Regions from separate parts of the Homo sapiens genome. Here region 2 is linked to region 1. Evidence: promoter capture Hi-C in human tissues and cell types (Jung and others, 2019). All regions are on one chromosome and are shown on one strand. Each heading gives the region's core, a stretch centred on a gene start or on the middle of the fragment in contact. The rest is flanking DNA. Distances are from core to core; before and after follow the strand shown.

The links. The method cuts DNA at HindIII sites, captures the fragments that hold promoters and counts their contacts. A contact is called where the count stands out against the background at its distance.
Region 2: a contact is called between a fragment that was not itself captured here and the fragment with the promoter of PRSS16 in region 1, in 2 of the 25 tissues and cell types used here (mesendoderm cells and neural progenitor cells).

What each region holds. Positions count from the first base shown.
Region 1 is chr6:27,243,700-27,250,691 of GRCh38, reverse strand. PRSS16 (serine protease 16) reads right to left here and starts at 2,991. Exons shown (of 12, transcript NM_005865.4): 1 at 2,885-2,991; 2 at 2,644-2,810; 3 at 1,746-1,845; 4 at 1,463-1,592; 5 at 1-9. The coding sequence starts at 2,954. The HindIII fragment of the contact is 6,552 bases long and covers 1-5,971 here.
Region 2 is chr6:27,475,551-27,482,542 of GRCh38, reverse strand. It overlaps TRS-AGA2-2 (tRNA-Ser (anticodon AGA) 2-2), which reads right to left and starts at 3,731; the gene lies at 3,650-3,731. TRD-GTC2-6 (tRNA-Asp (anticodon GTC) 2-6) reads right to left here and starts at 2,869; the gene lies at 2,798-2,869. LOC105375001 (a long non-coding RNA gene) reads right to left here. Exons shown (of 2, transcript XR_926664.4): 2 at 6,563-6,992. RefSeq lists a silencer at 2,757-2,816. The HindIII fragment of the contact is 5,093 bases long and covers 1,573-6,665 here.

The sequences.
Region 1 (6,992 bases), core at 1,742-4,241:
TCAGCCAGCCTAGGGTCAAAGGGGGGACTCGGTCGGTCCTCATCGCTGGGAATCCCTGAAGATTTCCCCATTCTGGGGGAAACCCGGATCCAGAGACATGAATGGGTGAATCTGGCCAGAAACCAGGGCCGTTTTCTCATGACGTGTTTCCAAGTGTTCTCCAAGCCACATACACTTCCCAGAACATGTGTGCCTAGGCCAAGGGAGACCCTGTCCTCGTCCACTTTCTAGAAAGCCACCACCCTCTTTCCCTTCTCGTTTTAGGTAGGAGAGGAAAAATTTCCAAGTCAGTTTAGATGAAAACCTGACAAATGTAGGGAAGGGTTGAGGGCACTCAAGGAGGGCTACTAAGAGGAGAAGGAGGGGTCCTAACCTGATGAGTTGCAAGGTATTGGGAGAGAGAACAGACACAAAGAGAAATGGAGAGTGAAGTTTGGATATGTCTAACATCCTCTTTCTCCTCCCAAGGGCTTTCTTTCTTCCCTAACCTTTCTGAATGGCTTGCAGTTGGTACCATCCTGTTGCAGTTAGAAAACCGTTTCGCTTGTAGAAAAGATTAAGATGCAGAGAGACAGAGATGGAGACAAAGAGGCACAGATGTAGATACAGAGACGGAGAAAATGAGACAGGCAAACAGACTGTTACAGACACAGACAGAGATACCAATGAGGAAAGAAAAAGCTAAGTTCTGTAAGAATAAAGCAGATGAAAGAAACAAAAAGCAGGTGAAGTAAAGTTGGAAAAATGGTGGCGGTCGTTAATAGGAGTGAGATGCACTGAAGGAGGCTGGGGTGAGAGGCATAAAAACATCTAGGGGAAGGCCACGCCATGCAGAGGGATGAGTTCAAAGGCTCAAGGCAGGAATGTGCGTGTAAGTCTGGAGGACAGTGAGGACTTCAATGTAGCTGGAGCCCAGTGAAAGTGAGAGAGTATAGGTCAGAGTTAACTAGAGGCCAAAACCCACTGGACTCCATGGCGACTGTAAAAGCTTTGACTTTACTCTGAAGTCAAATACAGTCAAAATTGCTTTACTTCTGAAGCAATACAGAAGATGTCTGAGGGACTTAAGCCAGGGAGGATCATGTCCTGGTTTATGCTCTAACAGAATTACTCTGATTTCCACCTGGAAGTCAAGGGCAGAGCAGGAAAAATGGTGAGAATGCTGTGGCCGTAATCCAGGTAAGGAATGCTGGTGGTCTGCACAGTGATACAGTGGCTTACTTCAGACAGAGACGCAGAAATAGAAAGAACACAGGATAAGAGAAAGACAGATAGGGAGAGTCAGAGACCCAGAAATGGAAAGAGAAAAAACAAGACCCTATGAAACACAGAAGAAAACAGAGGGAACCAGAGACTCAGAGGTTGACTTCAGACAGTGGAGGAGAGAGACACAGATGCAGAGATGCCAAAGCACAGACATTCCTGTCCTTTGACCATAAACACTTTCCCTTCCTCCACTCACGCAAGGCGGCTGGACAAGAAGCGGAGCTGGGCCATTTCCAGGCCTCCAGCAGGTATACTCAGGCCATAAAATCTGTGTTCCAGGCTTATCACCAGGGCGCCCCAGGCTGGGGCCAAGGCTGCGGGATGGCCTGTGAAGAGTGTATGGGTGGGGGGTGGGGAGGTGAGATGCAAGTTGAGTTTAAGCCCTTTCACTCCTCAGGTCTCACAGCATTGCAATATGCAGCTCCCCTTCCTGGTCCCCACCAGCATCCCAACTCCTTTCCCCCAACATTGCCTCTTACCTCTCATCACTGAGCCAGGCCCAAGGCTGCCCTCACCCCCTAGATGCAGGAATATGGGTCCATCCTGGCCAACCCAATGTTGGTCATTCACCCAGTAACGCTGAGAGGTGGGATGGGGAAGAAGAAATGGCACTGTGAGAGTCCTGACTTATTCTCAATTCCTCATTTGTTCCAGTCTCTCTTCCTAATGGATCTTTCCTTATGTACTTAACAGTGTCTGAAATGAGCTTGTTTATTTACTTGCTCACTTTTCCCCTGTTCATCTCCTCATCTAGAATGCAAAATATACAAAAGCAAATTTTTGACCTGGTTTTTCACTCTTATATCCCCAGAACTGAGGGAGTGGCTCTCACATTGAAGGAACTTGCTATTTCTTGAAGTAATAATTGTAAAATAAGAAATAAATGCAGATGGATTTAGGAATAAGATCCAAGTGGGATGATATTTGGAGACTAAATACAGAGGAAGCACTGAAAAATGGCGAATTTGTTCCTTCTTTCGATAGATATCTTTGAGTGCCTGTTGTGAGCTAGGTCTGATTCCAAAGCTGGTTCAAATTTCTGCTACCTACTGAGACCTGGTGGTAGGTTTTGTGTCCAGTCTGGACAGGGACAAGGGGGTAGGGAGGAGCAGTGAATGTGAATGACAGAGAGAAAGAAATGGTGAAGGGCAAGATCTGAGGGACAAAACGAGTGGGACCCCGAGGAGAGGAGAGAGTAAGGCCAAATCTACAAAGGGCAGGAAAAGGGATACTGACAGCAAGCATAACATGAGATTCAAGCAGAGGGATGGGGAGAACTGAGGTGTGGAGAGAGAAAAAAGTGCAGACTGAGGAAGAGATGAGGGAGACTGAGGAGAGGGCAGGATGGTTAGTGGACTCCCCGTCTCCCGGCCTCACCTGTAGGAAGGATCGTCTGTCGGACACGTTGAAGGGGTCCAGCAGTTGCTCCAGCCACCCCACTTTTGGGAGGGCTGCAGCACCTGGCCCCAGGCTCAGGCCCAGGCCCTGGGCAGAGCTCTCCTGAAACTGCTGAATGTGCTCACCCAGGCGCCTAAGAAGGGAGGCTGTGGGACATGGAGGGAAGGAAGTCAGGCTGGCCCCCTTAGGATGCCCTGCTTGACCCTCAGCCTCCTCTTACCTGGAGCCAAGAGTCCCCAGAGGGAAACCAAGAGCAGAGGGCCCAGCCACTGGGCAAGCCAGACGGCCATGGTGTTCGGGACTCTGTTCTCCCCCAGGAGGACCTTTATCTTATCCTCAGCAGCCGGGCCTTAAATCCATCACCTTTCAGCAGAGGCTCAGGTTTCTTTCCTTTCCTGGCAGGTCAAGCGTCTGTAGGAACTGCTAAAGCGGGGCAGGGACGCCAGAGTCTGTACACAGAGGCTGCTGATGCAGCATCGGAACTCCCAGTTTCTTCTCTCTGGGCCTCTCAGTCTGTTCTTCCCTCAGCTCTCAGTAGCCCTCGCTGTCTCAGTCTCCTCCTCTCCGCTCTTCGGTCTACCTTCTCTTTATCTCAGATTCCTCCTTTGCATGCCTTATTGTCCTTCAACCTCTGTCTCTCCCCACCTCAGCACCTCCTCTGGAACCCCAGTTGCCCACTTATTCTCAGTCTTTTCTTTCTGCCCCTCAGCATATCTTCAGTACCCCTCAGTTGTTCCCACACTCAGTCTTTCCGTCTCTTTTTTCTCAGTCCCCCATCTCTTTTTCAGTCTTTCTCTCCATACTCATCTCTTTGTCCCCCAATCTCACCTTGTCTATTTTCCAGCCCCCTCACTTTCTGCTCTGCTTCACTGTCCCGAGCTTCTCTGACCCACAATCTCACACTGTCCATAGACTCCTTACAGTTCTTTGAACATACCAGGCTTGCTTCTGCCTTAGGGTTCTTATTCTTGTTGTTCCCACCCTATGGATTGTGATTTCCCTATATACCCACGTGGTTTGCTCCCTCACTTCAACTGGATCTTTATTCAAAGGTCATTCATTCAGAAAGGTCTTCCATGGTCAGCTTTTTAAAAATTGCCAAACCTATGGCCCTCTTCTATTCCTTTTCAAACTTTATTCCTAATTCTTTTTCATGGGACTTATCACTATGAGAAATATTGTACATTTAAAAAGTTATTCCCATAAATTTAAAAAATATATCCAGAATCTGATGACTTCTCACTACCTTCAGTGCTACCACTGCTGAGCCACCATCATCTCTGACTTGGGATATCATGGAAGGCTTTTAGCTGGTCACCCTGTTTCTGCCTCATGATTTATTCTACACTCAGCAGACAGAGAGACAGAATTAAATATTAGCCCAATCATTCACAATCATTCACTCCCTGGTTTAGAACACTTCCCTGATGCCCCATCTTACTCAAAGTAAATCTAAAGTTTTGAAAACAGTTTTTAAAACTCTGTATGACCTGGCCCCCTGTTGTATATACTGTCATGATTTCATCTCCTACCCCTCCTGGGTTCACTGCTCCAACTGCATTGGACTATTTCATATTTCACAAGACTCACTCCTTCCTTAGAATTTTTGCTCTCCTTAGGATGCTTTTCCTCCAAATATCTGCAAGTCTTATTTTATCACTTCCTATAGTTCCCCATTCATATATTTTATCTTACCAAATGGGTTTTACCTGACCACCCTTATAAATGGCACAACACCTGAGACCCTGTCCCCTGATCCTTCTGTTGTCACTCCCTGATAGTGATGACATTTTATTGCACTTCTCTCCCAAACCATTCCCCAGGAAGTAAGCTTATTCTGGGAAGCAATTTTGTCTGTTTTGTTCACTGGTGTACCCATAACACCCAAACTACTTCAAGGCACTTGAAAGGTTCTCAATGAATATGCAGTGAGCAAAAGGCTATATGGATAAATTGATTAATTAATGAATTAGTTTTCTGCTCAGGAAAGAATTCCCTAAGAATGTGACCTAAGAGTTGAGGCAAGGGAGTGAGTGGGGAGGGAGGAAGGCAGGGAAAAAAATACTTGAGGTAAGAATGAGGAGCCAGGGGGAGCATGAGGTTATCTGGAGTCAGAGGGTTTCTGGCCCAAGAAAGAGCAGGTGCAAAGACTCTGAGTCACAAACCTGCTTGGCACCACCAAGGAACATCAACAGTTAGTGGGCTGGAAAGTCAATGAAGGAATTTGAATTAGATGAGAAGAGAGAAGTAATCAGAGATTCAACCCTGCTGGCAAGCCATAGAAAGGGCTTTGGCTTTTATTTAAAGACTGATATATGGCCGGGCGCAGTTGCTCACGCTTGTAATCCCAGCACTTTGGGAGGCCGAGGCAGCTGGATCACAAGGTCATGAGTTCGAGACCAGCCTGGCCAACATGGTGAAACCCTGTCTCTAGTACAATTACAAAAATTAGCTGGGCATGGTGGGGAGGCGCCTGTAATCCCAGCTACTCAGGAGGCTGAGGCAGGAGGATCGCTTCAACCCGGGAGGTGGAGCTTGCAGTGAGCCGAGATCATGCCACTGCACTCTAGCCTGGGCAACAGAGCTAGACTCCATCTCAAAAAAAAAAAAAAAGGACTGATATGTTGCCGTAAGGGTCTTTTAAAACCTTAATACATAAGTGAATTTAAAGTTGGGTGTGGTGGTGCATGCCTGTATTCTCAGCTACTTGGGAGGCTGGGACGAGAGGGCTGGGAGTTCAAAGCTGCAGTACACTGTGATCGAGCCTGTGAATAGCCACTGCACTCCATATTGGGCAACACAGTAAGAACCTATATTTAAAAAAATGTATTAATAAATTTCTAAATTTATTTTTCGATAAATACGAATTTACTTAGTTGTTTTAATTGCTAGACTGGAAAGACAGGGATGTTTATCCCAACTCAATAATAAGACAAATAGCACAATTGGAAATGGAAAAAGGGTTTGAACAGGGATTTCTCCAAAGAAAATACACCAATGGCCAATAAGCACATGACAAGATGCTCAACATCATTAGTCGTTACTAAAATGCAATTATTATTTATTTATTTATTTATTTTTGGAGACAGAGTCTTGCTCTGTCACCCAGGCTGGAATGCAGTGGCATGATCTTGGCTCACTAAAACCTCTGCCTCCTGGGTTCAAGTGATTCTCCTGCCTCAGCCTCCCAAGCAGCTGGAATTACAGGTGCACGCCACCATGCCCGGCTATTTTGTATTTTTAGTAGAGATGGGGTTTCACCATGTTGGCCAGGCTGGTCTCGATCTCCTGACCTCAAGAGATCCACCCACCTCGGCCTCCCAAAGTGCTGCGATTACAGGCGTGAGCCACTGCACCCGGCCACTAAAATGCAAATTAAAACTATGAGATAATCCTTCATATTGACAAAAATGGCTCTGATAAAGATAGGCAATACAAGCATTGGAAATGTAAAAGGAAACAGCCACTGTAGAAGACTCTTGAACTCTTTTTTTAAAAAAAATCACTTTTGTTAGGTATAATTTACATACCATAATACTCACCTGTTTTTAAGTGTAAATTTTAATTTTTTAAGTAGATTTACAGATTTGTTTAACTATCAGCAGAATCCAGTTTTAGAACATTTTCAGTAACCCCCAAAAAGTCTCTTCATGCCTATTTGCAGTGAATTCCCATTTCTATTCCTAGCCATAGACAACCATTAATCTATTTTCTCTATATATTTATTTTCCTTTTTTGAACATTCCATATAAAAGGAATTCTACAATACATGCTTTTTTATGTCTGGCTTCTTCCACTTAGCATAATGTTTTTGAGGTTCATCCATGTTATAGCAGGTATCAGCATTTCATTTCCTTTTATGGCTGAATAATATTCTGTTTTATGGATATACTATGTTTGAGCTATCTATTAATTGGTTAATGTGCATTTGGTTTATTTCCTCTTTTTGCTATTATGGCTAATGCCACTATGAACATTTGTGTACTAGTCTTTTTGTTGAGATACATTTTCATTTCTCTTGGGTAGATACCTAGATGTGGAATTACCAGAGCATATATTAAAATCAAATTTAACTTTTAAAGAAATTGAACTGAACTGTTTTCCAAAGTGGCTATACCATTTGTTCATGTAATTTCTTAGACTCCAGAAACCTGAACCAAACAGGTAGAAAGTCTCCAATTTCGAACATGAACACGCTGGAAAAGTGAGAACTGAAATACGCCAGGAAAAATCATTGAATAGAGAGGACCAGAGGCTGCCAGATTATCCCTTCAGGCATGAAACTGAATCTTTTTATTGTGGGCAGTGGTGCCTGCTGCCTGAAGTTC
Region 2 (6,992 bases), core at 2,870-5,369, 230 kb before region 1:
GGCTCCAACTGGGAGAGGCATGAACATCAACCTCTGTCTCCCTAGAACCATGCAGCTACTGGATCTCTACAGATCATTAGCCTTCCAGTTGCTCTTTCCTGTACTGGAACATCTTCCTGTGTAGGTACAACTTAGGAATTAGCCAGTAATATAAGGAGAATTTATAATACAAATTTGAGATCTTTCTCTGTGGTTCCCTCATCACTTGAATTTTGACCATCAAGTTCTATGCACGTTGGTAGCCCCAAACTCTGACCAGTATCTCCTTAGTCCAGCACAACTGCCTCTTTCCACATGAGGTCTATTCCACAATGGTGCAATACGGGACACACCTTCAGGAGGAAAGCACTTTCAAATGTGCAAACTCATATAATGTGCTTCCCTTCTCTCAAGGATTGTAGTTTGTCAAGCCTTGCCTGGGTTGACAGCTTATCAGTGCCTTCAAACAGTTGCTTTAAGTCGGGCTTGGTGGCTCACACCTGTAATCCCAGCATTTTGGGAGGCTGAGGCAGGTAGATCACGAGGTCAGGAGTTCAAGACCAGCCTGGCCAACGTGGTGAAACCCTGTCTCTACTCAAAATACACGCCTGCAATCCCAGCTACTCGGGAGGCTGAGCCAGGAGAATGGCTCGAACTCAGGAGGCAGAGGTTGTGGTGAGCCAAGATTGCGCCATTGCACAGCAGCTTGGGCGATAGAGCGAGACTCTGTCTCAAAAAAAAAAAAAAGCCAGAAACAAACAAACAAACAAAACAATTGCTTTATAGTTCTTATCCACGATGAATCATTTTTCTTCTAGATTAAAAAAGAAATAATAGATTAAAAGGAAGTAATAGAGACAAACGAGATTCAATGTTAGGTGAAAAGGATGAGGCATCAATCACTCTACTGTTCAATAGTGTTAACGAAAAAAAGAATCCATTGGCTGAAAGTGTTGCACAATAATATTAACTTTTAAATTTGATGGCCAAAATTTCATGACAAAAATGTTAATAATAATTATTTTTCTTTTTTTTTTTTTTGGAGACAGAGTCTTGCTCTGTCGCCCAGGCTGGAGTGCAATGCTGCAATCTTGGTTCACTGCAACCTCCGCCTCCCGGGTTCAAGTGATTCTCCTGCCTCAGCCTCCGAGTAGCTGGGATTACAGGTGCCCGCCACCACACCCAGCTAATTTTTGTATTTTTAGTAGAGATGGGGTTTCAGCAGGTTGGCCAGGCTGGTATCGAACTCCAGACCTCAGGTGATCCACCCGCCTCAGCCTCCCAAAGTGCTTGGATTAGAGGCATGAGCCACCTCGCCTGGCCAATAAGTATTTTTAAAACAAAATCAGACATATTGTTATATGCTGGAAGAGTATTCTTTCATTAAAGAAGCAATGCTGTTGGCTTTGATTATGGCTCACAAAAATATTGCTTTTAATATTCATCCATTCAGCGTTGGTCGAGGGTATATACTAGGTACACTTCTAATTCCTACCTTATTATAAAGGAGCTTAGAATGATTTGGATTTCGCCATACCTTTCCATTTTATATTGTCGTTGCTGTTTTGAAATTTAGTACCATTTGTTTTCATATTCCAACATGTAATCATTACGAAACAATGTTGTTTCAGGCATTCACTCTTTATGTAGCTTTTGTCACATGTTATGAATTTTCTTGCTCACTTATAACATTTTGAATCCCACTCCTTCATCAGTTCTAAATTCCTATTCATTAATGTAGTCGTCACTCTTGTCATATGCATTGTTCAAAATTGTATATTTGCCCTTTTACATTTTAATTCGTATATTTTCATTTATAGTTTTATTAGGCTTTTCTCCTTTTAACTTTCCATTCTGAAATTATTTTAGACTGACAGACACAGTACATGAATAATACAGATAATTCCTGAGCACCCTTCACCCCAATTCCCTCAATATTAGCACATTAAGGATATTCCTATATTTTCTTTTCCTTCTCTCTCTCATATATATACATAAATGTATATTTCTGAACTATTTGACAGTGAGTTTGAAGACACATACCTCCCCTTACCCTTAAATACGTATTTTGTAAATAGGTGTGAATTTTCTTAAAGACATTTTGTTCTATAACCATAGAACAATTAATACAATCAGGAATTCACATTCATAATATTATAAAATCTATAGACTTTATTGAGATTTCACCAACTATTTCAATAATGTCCTTTAAGATAAAAATTCCAGACCATATGTTGCTGTCATATCTTTAAGATCTTCTATAATGTGGACTATTTAGTCAGCCTTTCTTTGTGTTCTGTAACTTTGTTATTTTATTTATTTGTTTATTTATTTATTTATTTATTTATTTATTTTTCCTCCCTGCTTGCCTGTTACTAGGTTGATGCAAAAGTAATTGCAGTTTTTGAGGCGTACAAGTCAGTTATTTTGTTAAAATCTCCCTCAATATGGGTTTGTCTGATGTTTTCTGATTTAGATTACATATTTTTGCCAAGAATACCACAAAAGTGACGTTGTGCTCTCATGAGCACATCCTGTAAAAAAGGTATATAATGTAGATTCGTCCCAATACTGATTCAATCACTTGGGTAAGATGGTATCTACCCGGTTTCTCCACTGTGATGGAGATTACAGTGCAGAGTGGAAATTTTCTTGCTATTACAGAACCTCATGATTTCTACAGCTTATGGTTTTTGCGATCAGTATTTCGTTGGTTTGAAAGAACTCTGCTAAAGAAAAAGAGAACCCAACATTTGCCCAGAAGACTAGAGACTGTGTTTACCGGAAGTGTGCTTTTCTAAAAAAAAGTTTAAGCCTCCTCCCCGTCGGGGAATCGAACCCCGGTCTCCCGCGTGACAGGCGGGGATACTCACCACTATACTAACGAGGAATTGACGTGAAAATGGAGCTCTTAGGAAATCCCTGTGAAGTTACTCGCTATTGTCCATCTTTCTTTGCTCTGTAGTCACACGTTTCCCCTACCAAATATACGCAAGGCAATTCAGCGAACGTGTCTCCGCCCAACCGCGAATCCTCTCCAGTTCCTCCTTCATTCCTCGGACGCTTTGTCAGACCCTTTTAAAAAAGAACTCTCGCTAGCCTCCTTTGTGACGCACTGGTTTCCGTCTATGTTCAACCATGGTTGGAGCCCTAGCTAACATAGGAGTTACAAATCCCGAAAGGTGCATCGGTTGGTTTCAAAGACAGGAAAAGCAGAGGTGGGACCAATACCTGCGCTCCGTTGAGGTAAAATAGATAAAGAGTCTGCAGATGTATTTTTAAAGTTCAGGATGCGTCAAGTGGCACGCAGAAGCTTTATCACGAGTTCCCTCGCCCCCAAACTGAAAGCAAATATGACATCGTATTTCCTCTCTGAAGTAAATACGATTCCTCTCTGTTCTCAGTAAAACATCCCGAAGTCGGCAAAAGTTCAGGCTGCGTTAAGTGGCACGCAGAAGCTCTATTACGAGTTCCTTTACTCCCAAACTGAAAGCAAATATGACATCGTATTTCCTCTCTGAACTGTTCTCAGTAAAACATCCCGAAGTCGGCAAAAGTTCAGGCTATGTTAGGTGACACGCAGAGGCTCTATCACGAGTTTCTTTACTCCCAAACTGAAAGCAAATGTGAGATCCTATTTCCTCGCTGAACTGTTCTCAGTAAAACATCCCGTAGTCGGCAGGATTCGAACCTGCGCGGGGAGACCCCAATGGATTTCTAGTCCATCGCCTTAACCACTCGGCCACGACTACACGAATGGAGAAGGCTCCCTTCACATCTTTAAACAGAATTTACACCAGCTAACTGACAAGAAACGGTCAAAAGAACAAAATACGGTAAAAATGGTTTCCTGGGCAAGAAACTGGAGTCTGCGAGTTCATTAGAAACTCTAACGTGAAGTGCAAGTTGGATAAGACAAGCCAACCTCTCTGGGGCAGCCGCAAGGAGTCCTTGCCCTATCAGCAGTACCGTTTCCAGAAAACTAGAGACCACTGTACCTCTCTCACCTGGACCCAAACTGACCCCGCAAGGAAGTGGAATCAGACCCTCACCGTAAATCTGGGCCTGACACATTTAGTTTTTGTTTGAAACTTCCTCTCATTGAGGCTCCTTGATGAATGCTAATGGCTTTCAAGAAGGGACTAACTTTTGATTTGTGTCTGAACTGGAGGGCCAGAAAATGATGCAGAAAAGCCTACTTGCACTTTCTTGCTCTGATGAGGTCCCTAAGTCTCTAGGCTCACACCAACCCAAGGGAGTATATCTACCCGGTCTCGTTTGCACGGCATTTTGCATTTCACAATGCGCTTCCACGCTTCAGTTGGGTTAAGAAAGAAATTTATAGATTGTTCATGAGTTCCCATGGAACCAGGTTACCTATCAAAAGGAAGATCCTACTTTGATTTTTGGCCAAGGCAGACGCTCCTTCTCTCAAAATCTAACCCACGCAGTATGTTTTCTTTTCCTCTTATGCTTCCGTCTTGAAGTCTAAAGCTGCCGGTCCTGGAGTTTCCCTGAGCCCTTTGGATGCACAGATTATTGTAATTGGCTTTCATCTACTTCTTGGAACCATATACTAATCTAAGAAAAGAGGGAAACAATCGCAAGCTAAGAAATCATGTCGACTAAGTAGATAAATGAGGAAGAGGGACAAGAAGGAAGAGGAAAAGAAGAAAGTGACCAGAAAGGAGAAGAGAGAAAGGAAGGAGGGACAGGAGGTAGAAAGAAGAGGATGAAGGAGAAAGAAGAGGAGGAAGAGGAAGAGGAGAAACGAAGGAAGACCGGGAAGGGAAGAGACAGAGATTTTCTGAGGACCCTTGTTAGAGCTCAGAAAATGATACCCCAAAGTATGGCTCTTGGAAGTGCTGAGTACTTTGAACTAAAGAAGCAACCTCAGAATCAAAGTCTCTCTGACCTTCCGCAGCCCCACTGCCTCCTGATCCTCTTTCTTTCTTGAATGGCAGGGAGGGGCTTTCACTGAAGTTTCCCTTATTTGACTTACGGAGGTTCCTCCAGAAGGAAAGAGATTGTCATGAACCCTCTCCTGGAATCTGTATTAACCAGAGAAGATTAACTCAGATCCCAGGAGAGAAAACTAAAGGTCTCCATGCCCGGGACATCTCGCCCAGCCAGACTTCAATTCTTTTCTTCACCACCTATTCTGAGGGCTGCTACTTGAGAGACTTTATCTGTATAATAAGACAAGCTTTGTTCCCAGAGCTGTTCCTGCCCTGACCCTCACATTGCTTCTCGCCACCACCTTCCAGGAGCCTTCAAGCTCCTATTTCTTTATGTAGCTCCAAGTCCTATTTAAGCTTCAACCATCTGCCCCTTCTTTGAGTCTCACTTACACTTTCTGGGACCTCTGTGCATATGTGCATAATAAATGTGTATGCCTTTTCTTCTGTTAATCTGTCTACTAGCAGCTTTATTTCTCAGACTCAAATATCCAACCTCCAGAAGGGAGAAAAAAGATTCTCTCACCCCTACAGGCTCAAAAGAAGACTAAAAGAAATTCACTAGTTTTATGGAAGACCATAATTTGAGGGAATAGACATGAAGCAGTTTGATGGGGTAGCCAGGTGTCCATACAAATATAAGTTGTGCTATAGATTGTTGTTCATAGTTAATGCATATCACATCCTTTTTATTTGGTGGACATATTTTTATCAAGCACATCTTTATTTTTTTTTGCTGAAATCATTTGCAACTCCAGCTTTGAATAAAGTTAGATACCAAAGAAATATCAAATCTCTTTTAAGAAATTTAAAAAAATTTTAGAATCAGGGTCTTACTCTATCACACAGACTGGAGTGCAGTGGCACCATCATAGCTTACTGTAACCTGAACTCTTGGGCACAAGCCATCCTTCTGCCTCAGCCTCCAGAGTAGCTAGGAATAGAAGCATGCACCACCACTCCTAGCTAACTTTTTTTTCTTTGTAGAAAAAAAATGTATTTTCTTTGTATTCCTTGTATTTGAAGAAAAACTGACAATTTGCCTTTTTAAGTATAGAAGGACATTTGATTTGTTTCCAATTTAGGGCTAAAGTAGAAACTGGACTGGTTTTTGTTTCCTGCAACTAAGTCCTGACTCTCTACCTTTACTGAGATCCATTCTACTATGTTTTTGTTTTCAGCCCAGTAAAACAAGTAAGATTGCAGCTGTGGCCAGTCCCTAGTCATTGTTACAGTAAAACAAGCCAAAGTTGATTAGTAATTTCAGTTCAAATATATCACTAGTTGCTTTGTATTTTGCTGAGGTGTTTTTTTAAGCACAAAAGGTTTCTGAGGGCTGGGTTCAGTGGCTTATGGACTGTAACCCCAGCATTTAGGAAGGCCGAGGTGGGAGGATTGCTTGAGGTCAGGAGTTGGAGGCCACTTTGTGCAACATATAGAGAAGTCACTGAAGACAAAAATTATATCTTTCTGTGTCCTCAACATGTATTGAAAGCCTCATTTGTATAAGGTATGGCTAAAAGTTTTCCAAATCATGAGTGCTGGTTCCTTTGTGCTGAATAGTTCCTTCCTCAGTTTATTTCTTTCCTCATGCATTTCACCATAAGCAGCAATAACTAACCAGGTTGCACATTCCACATTTTACTTGGAAGTCTTCTTAACTAAATATTCAAGTTCATCATGTACAAATTCTGTTTTCCACCCAAATATAGAATACAATTCAGCCAAGGCTCTCCCACTTTATAACAAGATAACCATTCCTTCAGTTTCTAATTGCATGTCATTAATTTCCTTCTGAGACCTTACCATAAGCATATTTAACATTCTTATATTTTAAATTTAATAGAACATTTTGGGAACAGTTTTAGGTTTATAGAAAAATTGAGCAGAAAGTAGAGTTTCAGTATACTCCTTCCTTCTCCCCTCCTCCCCCAGTTTCTCTATTATTAACATCTTGCACTAGTGTGGTACATCTGTTAAAATTGATGAGCCAATGTTGATAAATTATTATTAACTAAAGACCATAGTTTATATTACGGTTCACTCTTTGTGCTG